Linked DNA regions of Homo sapiens: all the other regions are linked to region 1. Evidence: promoter capture Hi-C in human tissues and cell types (Jung and others, 2019). All regions are on one chromosome and are shown on one strand. Each heading gives the region's core, a stretch centred on a gene start or on the middle of the fragment in contact. The rest is flanking DNA. Distances are from core to core; before and after follow the strand shown.

Region 1 (3,920 bases), core at 374-2,873:
TGGCAGGGAGGCGGCTGCTCTTCCTCCTAAGGGAAAAGCCTGCAGCCCCGTGCTGCTGGGCCGTGGGGTGAGGGGGAAGCCAAAGGGCCCCTATCACCCCTCAGCAGGAGTCTCTCCTGGCTTTGGAAGGGGCTGAAGGCCCGGGGCTCTCACGAGGGAACTCAGCCCTGCTCAGCCGGTCAGGACTCCTCCTCCACGTCTAAATCCACAGACCAAACAAAGGACATGGCTCAGTTCCACCTTCAATCCACAGGGATTCTGCCTGTTAGCACGCTAAGGAAACTGTTTCTTACTTTAAATTATCCATTAATTTCCTCCAACTGAAAGATACTCTACAAATTTTCTGTTGTTGGAGGGTTTAAGCTTGGTCCCTCTGAGGGGGTGGGCCCTGCTGTGTCGGCCCCTTGTGTCTGCTCGTGGAAGGTGTGCCATGTGCCACCGTGTGCCATATGCAGCTGACACGCCTGTGCGTCTCGCCTGGCGCTGGAGACTGCTCTCTGTGTACTAAGCGAGTACTGGATCCCCAGGGCCTATCTTGCCCACTGCCTGTGGCAATACACAGGCAATACACAAAGCGCATTCAAGTAAGCAGGTCTCCCTGCCCCCCGGCCTCCCAGAACCTCGGTGCCTGGAGGGCAGGTGGGGGAGGGCGTTCCTGAATGGAGGCCGGTTTCCCTCTGCGGGGAGGAAACCCCATTTCCCTCCTACCCCTAGGCGCTTGCTACATCTGGCCCGGCATCAGACAGGAAAGAACCCTTTCTTCCCAGCTTGTAGGAAGTCTGAGCTGGGCCCCTTATCTACCCACAGCACTTCCTGGACCGGGGGCCTGGACCGGGCTCCGAAGGGGCTGGCTCCCGGTCTTGGTCTTGGCCTCGGCGCCCTCGTTTCTCTGCGCTTTGGGCAGGGGAAGCTGCGGACGGCAAGCTCTCGGCTTTCGTGAGAGCCTGGTGGAATCGGTGTTCCCCGAAGGCTACTCTGCGGGGGCGGGGGCTAGTCCGGGCCTTCCCGGCAGTATCGTCTCCCCCGTGGGGGCTGGGGAGGTGCCCCCAGGGCTCCCGGAGCGGCGGCGTGGCCAAGGCCCGAACCGGGTCTGACATCTAGTGGCCTCCTGGGCCCGGGCAGGGCGAGGGCGGGGCAGGGAAGAAGGTGGAGGGCAGAATGGGAGGCGTGGAGCGAGAAAATCAGGAAGCGCGGGACCAAGCCGGGGAAGGGCGGCGGGTCTCGCCCCTGGCACCCGCTCTCCTCGGGGCCCGTCCCATCCCCCAGGCCTGGCCGACCCCAGGTCCTTCCGTGCGCAGTCGGGGCTCGCAAGGACGAATCCCGCGGCCCTCGAGGCAGGCCCGGGGGAGCTCCCGGCCCTCCACCCCCGCAGGCCGCAGATCCCACGCACCCCCGATCATGGGGGCCCCGGAGGGAGGTCGCGAGGCCGGGCTCACGGTGGCCGCGGTTCGCCCACGTGCGGGCCCGGAGCTGGCAGGGCCCGGTCCCGAGCGTGGCCGCAACCGCGGGGACCTGGCACGTGCGGGGCAGCCCCGGGGGCCGCGTACGCCACTTCCGGTCCCGGAGACACCGCCCAGCCCGCCGCCCGGTTGCCATGGCGACGCCGTCGCGCCACGGCCCGCAGAACCGGCCAAGCGACCCGGGCGCGGCGCGGGGAGGCTGAAGGGACGCTCGGGTAGGCAAGGTAGGAGGCCGGGCTGGGGGTGGGAGCGGAGCGCGCAGGGGTGCGGGGCGGGGGCGGCCCAGGTGAGCCCTGACTGCGCAGGGAGGGACAGCGCGGGGCTCCCGAGTAGCAGCCGGCCTCGCACCTGCCCCTTGCGGCCGCGCACTGGACTGCGGCGCCGACCCGCACCCTGGGCCCGAGGGCTGCAGGGCTCGCCCGCCCTCTCGGAGCCGAGCCTCTCCCGGTCCAGGCGGCCCCTGCCCTGGCCTGCCCGGGTGCCGGGTCTCTGCTGAAGTTAGAACCGAGACCCCCGCTTGCTGGTGACCCCGAGTTTGGATCTTTGCTCCTGCGCCGCGTTCTAGAGCAAGGTAGGGTGCAAATGGACCAACCAGCCTTTGCCACGGCTGCCCTCTTGAAATCTGAAACCGGAGCCACCGCCTCTTGCCCCGAGCAGGGCCCGGGCTGCAACGTGGAGCCGCAGGTCCCCGCCTGTGTCTCCCGACGCCCCCAGCTTCTGAGCGCGAGGGTGGGAGTTTCCCGAGTGGGAAAGCCCCATGGCTTCGGTGGCCTCGGTGGCCCTGTGGTGGGTCAGGCCGGTGCCAACTGCGCTGAGGGCGGAGCTGCCGCCACCTTGACACCTGGGAGATGGCAGGGCCACCCTCCCTCCCTCCCTCCCTGCCCTGTCCCCGACTGTATCACGGAGCGAGGATCATCCGTGTGGATCTGGGGTCCCCTTCCCAGACTTCTCCTTTCTGGTCGTCCTCCTCTCATTCATTCCACCTTGGCAGCCTTTGTGGATTTTCTGACTCCGTAAATGAAGTTACATCTAGGGCGCCTAGATTCTGCCCCTTTGGTTTAATAGCTAATGAAAAAAAAAAAAAAAAAGCTTTGCCACCTCCTCTAGGTGCCTGGATTTCTCCCGGTGAAATTTGATGGAGGCAGGAAAATACGAGGCGGTGGCAGCCCCACCTCCTTGCATGAGGGAGCCTCCTAGAGCTGGAGGTGGAACCACCCTGCTTGTCCCACTCCTTTTCTTTCTTGCTTTATTGCTTTCTTGCTTTCCTTACTTTCCTTCCTTCTTTTTTTTTTGAGATGGAGTCTTGCTCTGTTGCCAGGAGGCTGGAGTGCAGAGGGCAATATCAGCTCACTGCAACCTCCATCTTCCGGGTTCAAGCGATTCTCCTGTTCCAGCCTCCCTAGTAGCTGGGATTACAGGTGTGTGCCACAACACGCAGCTAATTTTTGCATTTTTAGGAGAGACGGGGTTTCACCATGTTGGCCAGGCTGGTCTCGAACTCCTAACCTCAAGTGATCTGCCCGCCTTGGCATCCCAAAGTGCTAGGATTACAGACGTGAGCCACCGTGCCCAGCCTTGTCCTACTACTTTTCTGCCCTCACCACTTTTCCTTGGCAGGCAGAGCTTGGGCTCCTGCTAATACTGGGATGGTTCAGTGGCATTAGATGGCATTGGTGGAGGGGAATGAGAAATTAACCCCCTCTGAAAGCGTAGCTTCACTGGGAAAAAGCACTCTACTGTCTGAACAATTCATAAATGAATTTTGGGAATATACAATGTCACAGATTAAAAGCAGACCATCCTGTGTTCTTCCAGCCCCAGGAGCTTCTGCTTGGTGTGCAGGGGCTAATGGTGGACAGCAATGGAGTGTAGATTTATTAGAGACGGCTGCCATCTGGCTCTCTGTGGCCCCAAACCTCATGTGTCAGCAGTGTGACTCTTTCTAAGGTGCTCTTAGGACCAGATTTCGTTTTTGTAAGATTGGTCTTTGATGGAATGCCTACTTTGTGGCAGGCACTGTGCTGGGCGCTGGCACACCTTTATCCACTTACTCCTTCTGTGTTCAATAAGGTAGCTCCAGATATCCTCCACTTTATAGATTAGGAAGCAGGCTTGGAGAAGGGACTTGGCTTGTCCAGGAGCTGATGGTTATAAATAATGAGTCTGTTTTGAAATCACATCTCTCTAACCTGGGCTGCGCTGGGCCTTTCATGGGCCGTTGGCCCTCTGGCCTTCACGGGCCCCGTCTTCCATAAAAAAAATAATAACAATTGGCCCGGCGCAGTGGTGAAAGCGCGTCTCTACAAAAGATACAAAAAATTAGCCAGGCATCGTGGAGCACGCCTGTAATCCCAGACTCGGGGAGTCTGAGGCAGGAGAATTGCTTGGACCCGGAAGGCAGAGGTTGCGGTGACCCGAGATCTTGCCATTGCACTCCAGCCTCAAAAAAAAAAAAATTAA
Region 2 (3,920 bases), core at 1,040-3,539, 330 kb before region 1:
TAACAAAACAAATTTAAATAACTGCACTCCTCTCTTATATTAAATTGTTACAATATAAATCAGATATTATCATTCCTCTGATCGAAACCCTCAGATCCTTCCTAAGTAACAGCCTAAAAGGCTTTGGTTGTTCCGCTCACTCCCTTCCCCCAATTCTTCCCTGACCTTATCTCCTAATACTCCCTCAGCTCACAGTGCTCCAAACGCGTTGGTCTTCACACTCTTAACGGGCCAGCTTTGTCCTCCTCAAGGCTTTTATGTTTGTTATTCTCTAGCTTGGAACGTTCCTTTCCCCAGATAAACGTAGGCTCTCACTCCACCTTCTAGTCCGCTTAAATATCAGCTTGTCTGTATGGACTTCCCTGACCACTTTATTGCAAATTCCAACACCACCACCTCCCCAACCCCCTTTCCAGCTTTCTTTTCCCTAAGATACTGATCATCTTCTAACATTCAGTATAATATATGTATCTGTTTGCCTCTCCTCCCGCTACTAGAAAGTTAAGTTCCCCAAAGGCAGGGGTCTAACACCTATCCCTATCACCTAGAACGGCGCTAGAGAATAGGCACCAATAAAAATACCCCTTGAATGAACGAATTGCACATTAGGCTACACAATGCTTCTTCCAGGTACAGGAAGATATATTTTCTTTTCCCAGCTGTCAAAATATAAACATTAATTTTTGTACGAAACACTCATTGCTCACCTCTTATGTGCCAGAAATGAGCTTGGCTCTGCAAAGCGCCTTAAGACATAGTCCCTGCGCTTGAGGAAGTCCTGGGTGTGTATACGAGAGAGGACAGACATAGAAACATCATTGACAAAAAGAAAACACAGGGAAGCCACAAGAAATTGGATAACTGCCTATAGGAGTGGGGGCAAGAGGGAAATTCTCAGTGATGAGAATGTAATTCCCCAAAACTCTCGACAGCTTCTCCTGTTTTTGATGCATATGTTTGCAATTCCATGTAAATTATTTATTCACATCAGATACGCTCTCAAGTAGGCCGCAAAAAAGTTTGTGTGACTACAGTGATGCTAATAATCGACCTACTCAACGCTGCACAAAGATCATCGCCTATATCTTTTCACTCCTCTCATTTGGCAGCTTTTGCCTCTCAGGACCCCAAATTCGGAGGCCTGCATCTCCCAAGCGCTGCCTCCTTGGGTCAGAATTCTCCCCGCGCTATTCCTGCCCTGGAGCCGGGCACCCTGCAAATCCTTTTCCTAGGCGAGGGGGCGCCGCCTCCGGAAAGCCGCCAACTGGGCCTCGGTAAGACTTGTGAGGGAAGCGGGAGCTGTGGGAGGGCGACGCGGCTAGGAAGGAACCCTAGAGGCCTCAGCCCCCACTCCCACCCCTTCCCGGCACCCCGGCCGCCGGTGCCCCGAGGCTCTGCCGACTCTTTGTTAAGCGAGGCCGCGGTTCCTCCGCCCTCGCTAGGCCCAGCAGTTGCCTCCAGTGCCCCCAAGGACTGGCGGCCTTGCGTCCAGAAACCCCACGCACAAACCTGCTGCTATGGCTGCAGCGGCAGCTGCTACAACCGCGGGCGCGGAGCGAATCCCGGAGCCCAAAGTACGCGCTGTCCCGGCCCGGTCCCGCCGCGCTCCTTCCTCTCCGCCCCCTTCGCCGCCGCCGCCGCCACCACCACCACCGCCGCCGCCACCGCCACCACCGCCACCGCCTCACGGCCCGTTGCTGAAGGGGGGAGGGGAACAAAAACGCGACATGCGCAGTGAGGAACGCGCGGGCAGAAGGGCGGGGCCGGGGCTACGGCTCCCGGAAGGCGCCTGACCTTAAAGCTCCAGAACGCCTCACAGGCTCCTCAGATACTCTGACGGGAAACTGCAGTTGGGTGGACAGTGTTCATGACCCATCTAGAAAGTGGGTCTGCGAATGAAGAAAAAGTGGCGTCAAGGGGCTAGCCAAAAATCCCAAGAGAAAACGGGTTGGACAGAAACCATATTTACATGAACATGCCTATAGTTTAAACTGTTGCATATACTACTAGAGCGACACTCTTGCCTCTGGCCACGTGGTCCCACACAGCATGGCCACCTTTAGCTTCCGGAGCACCGGTTCCGTGTGACGTCAACTTGACGGAATCCTAGGTAGGAGGATTGGGATAGGCGAGGGCAGTTCCGGCCCAGGGGCGGGGATTATGTAATTTTCCCAAAAGCCCCACCTCGCCTCAGCCGGGCGGGAGAGAGGGAGGTCTCGCGCTTTCCCCGGGGTTGCGTCCCGCCCCGCAGGCTGCGCGCAGGCGCTGACGAGCCGCTCGCATTCTACGTAACGGACGGCGGAGGCTACGTGAAGAGAGGCGCGGCGTGACTGAGCTACGGTTCTGGCTGCGTCCTAGAGGCATCCGGGGCAGTAAAACCGCTGCGATCGCGGAGGCGGCGGCCAGGCCGAGAGGCAGGCCGGGCAGGGGTGTCGGACGCAGGGCGCTGGGCCGGGTTTCGGCTTCGGCCACAGGTAAGGAGCGGGCCAGGACGCGCTCGTCGGCGTGGCCGGGCCAGGCCGAGCGGTGACTCCGAGTTGCTTGGCCTGTAGCCCGGTCCGGTTGAGATAATTGTAATGGTTTGGGGGAACTTTCCCACGGAGCTGTGAGCAAATGATAGCCAAAAGGGCAGAGTTAGAGGAAATGTACAGTGTGTGCCGGAGGATGACATTAGGATGTATTGATTCTCTTGGGTGGGGAGAAACTAGGCAAAGGGGTTTAATAGAAGCAAAAACCTCTGTGGCCAGTCTCTTCTGGAGGTTTCTAAAATGAAACGTGTTTGTATCCAACACATATAAAGAGACAGAGGAAAGTCTGCATGATTTCCAGAATACTCGTTTTGGCCGTTGTCAGGAAGACCTAATCTAAAATGACAACAAGGAATGATGGCCTCACTCAGTCCTCTTTCCTCAAGTCTAGACTCAGTCGCTGAGGAACTATTGGATGAGCTTGCAGAAAATAATCAAACCAGACTTGTTAGCGCTTGTGTGAATTTTCCTTGGTCCTGTGTTGCTTGCTTCAGGAGTCATAGAGGCTGGGTGGTCTGGCAAGGACTTGTGCATTTGAGAACTGACAGGTGCAGCGGAGACTTCTAAGAGGGAAAACCAAGGTAAAAATGGCTTGGATGATTGTAACCTAAATAACCTTGAAGGATCTCCATTATAGTGCTGAGTTATCTCAGAAGTGTTTCTATGGTGTGAATATTCTAATTGGAAATTCAATTTGAAATGATCGGATCTTTTGGCAGGCTGTTAATCGAGTTGACTGTTCCGGTGTTAACTTTTAGTTGCTTCTATATGAAAAAAAAGTTTTAAGAGTAGGATTTGAAAAGGAGGCTGGGCGCGGTGGCCCACGTCTGTAATCCCAGCACTTTGGGAGGCCGAGACGGGTGGATCACGAGGTCAGGAGATCGAGACCATCCTGGCTAACACAGTGAAACCCCGTCTCTACTAAAAATACAAAAAATTAGCCCTGCGTGGTGGCGAGCGCCTGTAGTCCCAGCTACTTGGGAGGCTGAGGCAGAAGAATGGCGTGAACCCGGGAGGCGGAGCTTGCAGTGAGCCGAGATCGTGCCACTGCACTCCAGCCTGGGTGACAGAGTCAGACTCCGTCTCAAAAAAAAAAAAAAAAAAAAACCCTTGGTACATATCTCCCGTAATACCCACTGCAGCCCTAAGAGGCAAGTAGCAAATGGTATCCCTTTTTTGTATGTGGAGAACAGGGAATTTTAAGTAATTAGGCTAAGGTCATATTGCTGGTAAATGGTAGAGCTGACATTTTATTTTATTATTTATCTATTTTTTTGAGACAGAGTCTCACCCTGTTGCCCAGGCTGGAGTGCAGTGGCGCAATCTTGGCTCACTACAACCTCCATCTCTCGGGTTCAAGCGATTCTCCTGCCTCAGCGTCCCGAGTAGCTG
Region 3 (3,920 bases), core at 747-3,246, 270 kb before region 1:
TTTTTTAAAGGAAAATTTTCTTAAAACCTTTTGTTGTTCTTGTCCTTGCGTATGGCATTCCCTTTTTCTTTTAGGCAAAGGATTTGAGGACCTGATGACTGTGAATCTAGCAAGGTACAAACCAACAGGAGAGTACGTGACTGTACGGAGGATTAACCTAGAAGCTTGTTCCAATGAGATGGTAACATTCTTGCAGGTAATAAACCATGAGTGTGTCACATGGAGGGAGGGTGGGCTCTTGGCTCTGATAGGAATTACAAGGAATTACAAAGAAATGAAGGGAGACTAAACGTTCGGAAGTTATGGAAGCTTTCAGTGGAGAATCCTGGCCATTTGGCACTAAGGATTGGGCTGAAATGCTGCTCAGCCTAATTTATATTTCCCTTTTCTTCTCCAAACACTCCCTTCTGGCTTTTTTATTCATTTATTTATTATTTAGAAAGAAGCTAAGTAACTTGCTCATGGCAGAGGCAGGATTCAAACCCAGGCCATCTTGTTCCAGACACAAGGTGCCTGCCCTGCCACCAGTGGCCATCTTCTGGCTCTCAGCCTCCTGTTTGCCTGATGTTCCTTTCTTTTTCTTTTCTTTTTTTTTTTTTTTGAGACGGATTCTCACTCTGTCACCCAGGCTGGAGTGCAGTGGCACGATCTCGGCTCACTGCAACCCCCACCTCCCAGGTTCAAGCGATTCTCCTGCCTTAGCCTCCCGAGTAGCTGGGACTATAGGCGCACACCACCATGCCCGGCTAACTTTTGTATTTTTAGAAAAGACGGGGTTTCTTCATGTTGGCCAGGCTGGTCTCAAACTCCTGACTTCAGGTGATCTGCCTGCCTTGGTCTCCCAAAGTGCTGTGATTACAAATGTGAGCCACCGCATCTGGCCTCTTTTTTTTCGAGACAGGGTCTCATTTTATTGCCCTGGCTGGAGTACAGTGGCAGGACCACGGCTTACTGCAGCCTTAACCTCCTGGGCTCAAATGATTCTCCTGCCTCAGCCCCCCAAGTAGCTGGGACTATAGGCACACCACACCTGACTAATTTTTGTATTTTTTGTAGAGACAGAGTTTCACCATCTTGCCCAGGCTGGTCTCAAACTCCTGAGCTCGAGCAATCAACTCACCTCAGTCTCCCAAAATGCTAGGATTACAGGTGTGAGCCACTATGCCCAGTCCTGACATTCCTTTCTATTCGAGAAGCAAGTAGCCACTCTCTCGTTAAACTGAGAGAGGGGGCAGGCATGGTAGCTCATGCCTGTAATCCCAACACTTTGGGAGGGCAAGGCAGGGAGATTGCTTGAGCCCGGGAGTTTGAGATTGCACTACCAAACTCCAGCCTGGGTGACAGACTGAGTCCCTGGCTCAAAAAATAAAACAAAACAAAACGGAGAGAGACTGTGAGTCTAGTAAGTGCTTGGGAGTTAGACTCTCCTTTCCTGATGCCAGCTTAGAGTCAGGGCCTGGGGCAGTTTTCCTTCAGTAGAGTTAGTTGCAGCCCCTCCCCTCCTTCATTTACAACTTTTTCTGAATTGGTGGTTACCTGATGGTGCTCTAGGACCTGTTCATCTGTTCATAGTAGTTTGGTGGGTCTGAGGATGGAGCAGAAGCCAGTCTCAGCTGGCCTTCTCCTCCATCAACTGTGTTTTCTTTTTCTTTTTTTTTTCTTTATTTGAGACAAGGTCTGGCTCTGTTGCTCAGGCTGGAGTGCGGTGGTGCAATCACAGCTCACCACAGCCTCAACTGCTCAGGCACAGGTGATTCTACCACTTAAGCTTCCCGAGTAGCTGGGACTAAAGGCATGCACCACCATGCTCAACTAATTTTTTGTATGTTTCATATAGATGGGGTTTCGCCATGTTGCCCAGGCTGGTCTCCAACTCTTGGGCTCAAGTGATCTGCCTGCCTCGCCTCCCAAAGTGCTGGGATTACAGGCGTGAGCCACCATGCCCGGCCATGTTTTCTTTTATAATAGAAACATAGTTTTGGGCTGGGCACAGTGGCTCACGCCTGCAATCCCAGCACTTTGGGAGGCCAAAGCAGGCCTAGGCAACATGGCAAAACCCTGTCTCTACAAAAAAATATAAAAAATTAGCTAGGTATGTTGACGTCCACCTGTGGTCGCAGCTACCAGCGAGGCTGAGGTGGGAGGATGACTTGAGCCTGGGAAGTTCAGGCTGCAGTGAGACGGGATCACACCACTGCACTCCAGCCTGGGTGACAGAGCAAGACCCTGTCTCAAAAAAATAAAAAAGAAAACATTTTTGGCCAGGTGCAGTGGCTTGGTGGCTCACGCCTATAATCCTAGCACTTTGGGAGGCTGAGGCAGAAGGACTGCTTGAGCCCAGGAGTTTGAGACCAGCCTGGGCAACACAGTGAGACCTTGTCTCTACAAATAACAACAACAAAATATTTTTTGTTTTCTTATCTTAAAGAGGAATTCTATACGTTGGCCCTTGAAATTGAGATAAGCTTATAACTTCAGAAGTCTTCAGTCAACAGTTTGCCTTCATCATCTCTGAGTCGGTGTGCTGGCACCCTTTGTTGTTGGCAGTTTCCCTATCTGGCAGAGGCAAAGCAGTGCTGGGTCCCTGCAGAGGCAGCAGGGCCTTGTTTTTCCTATGTTGGCAGGCACCTGCTTAGGCTGTTCCCATGACTCTGAGAACACCCAGAAAGTGCCAGGTCCCCCTATTGTCCATGCTGCCATCTTTGTGTTGAGCGGCATCCTTCAGTGCCATTTGGTTCTGACTTCAGCTTCATCATTGCTTCCAGGGCGAGCTGCATGTCTCCAAACTCTTCAACCATCCCAATATCGTGCCATATCGAGCCACTTTTATTGCAGACAATGAGCTGTGGGTTGTCACATCATTCATGGCATACGGTGAGTGGGAAAGGGTTCTTGGTAGAAAGGGGTTATTGGGACTCTGTTGTCAGATTGCCTGTGTTTTCCTCCTCCATTACCTTTCACTGCCTCCATGCAATCCTTTTCTGCAGGTTCTGCAAAAGATCTCATCTGTACACACTTCATGGATGGCATGAATGAGCTGGCGATTGCTTACATCCTGCAGGGGGTGCTGAAGGCCCTCGACTACATCCACCACATGGGATATGTACACAGGTGCGTTCTTAGGCGGCCTTTCCCATGATTACAGTGGGTAGCTATGCCCCTGAGCCTTCAGGTAAAGTGAAGTTTGACTGAAGTTAATGAAGCCAGAGTTTAAAATCAAGGATCTGGATTCTTGCTGAAGATCTCTTTGCTCTGAAAAGAAACAGGGCCCAGCGCGATGGCTCACGCCTGTAATCACAGCGCTTGGGAGGCCAAGGCAGGTGGATCACAAGGTCAGGAGTTTGAGACCAGCCTGGCCAACATAGTGAAACCCTGTCTCTACTAAAAATACAAAAATTAGCCGGGTGTGGTGGCACATGCTTGTAGTCCCAGTAGCTGGGACTACAAGCTGAGGCAGGAGAATCGCTTGAACCTGGGAGGCGGAGGTTGCAGTGACTGGAGATCACACCACTGCACTCCAGCCTGGGTGGCAGAGTGAGACTCTTGTCTGAAAAAAAAAAAAAAAAAAAGAGAGAAGGATCTGGATTCTGACCTTGCCACTGACTTGGGAGATGGTCACTTAGCCTGTTAGTGCTGAAGCCACTGACTTTCTCTTTGCTGAGCAGCTTGGTCTTGAGTGTTGTGTGAGAGGAACATCTGATGTGGACCTTTGTACTCCACTCTCTGCCTCCTTCTTTCTGTGCCCCAGAGTCAGTCTTATGCTGAGAGACCAGGGCGAAGACAGATAGCTTAGTAGATAGTGTCAGGAAATCAGCTCATAGTAGGGAAAATGGTAAAACTGGACCCCTACATAACTCCTCATACAGAGAAGGACTGCAGCTGGATTAAAGGCTTCTATGTAAAATGTGAAACTGTAGACT

What was found. The method cuts DNA at HindIII sites, captures the fragments that hold promoters and counts their contacts. A contact is called where the count stands out against the background at its distance.
Region 2: the fragment with the promoter of CCDC47 here is called in contact with the fragment with the promoter of CYB561 in region 1 in 1 of the 25 tissues and cell types used here (bladder).
Region 3: a fragment that was not itself captured here is called in contact with the fragment with the promoter of CYB561 in region 1 in 1 of the 25 tissues and cell types used here (aorta).

The regions. Positions count from the first base shown.
Region 1 is chr17:63,444,009-63,447,928 of GRCh38, reverse strand. It overlaps CYB561 (cytochrome b561), which reads left to right and starts at 1,623. Exons shown (of 6, transcript NM_001915.4): 1 at 1,623-1,684. RefSeq lists enhancers at 1-223, 727-866, 224-1,037 and silencers at 1,007-1,196, 1,367-1,926. The HindIII fragment of the contact is 15,609 bases long and covers 1-3,920 here.
Region 2 is chr17:63,771,966-63,775,885 of GRCh38, reverse strand. It overlaps CCDC47 (coiled-coil domain containing 47), which reads left to right and starts at 2,289. Exons shown (of 13, transcript NM_020198.3): 1 at 2,289-2,474. DDX42 (DEAD-box helicase 42) reads right to left here and starts at 1,716. Exons shown (of 18, transcript NM_203499.3): 1 at 1,510-1,716. RefSeq lists a silencer at 1,388-1,677 and enhancers at 1,808-2,117, 1,830-2,414. The HindIII fragment of the contact is 13,143 bases long and covers 1-3,920 here.
Region 3 is chr17:63,709,682-63,713,601 of GRCh38, reverse strand. STRADA (STE20 related adaptor alpha) reads left to right here. Exons shown (of 13, transcript NM_001003787.4): 6 at 75-196; 7 at 2,766-2,874; 8 at 2,988-3,111. Among named protein-coding and RNA genes, the nearest start is that of LIMD2, 12 kb to the right of the region's middle. RefSeq lists a silencer at 2,979-3,273. The HindIII fragment of the contact is 3,518 bases long and covers 238-3,755 here.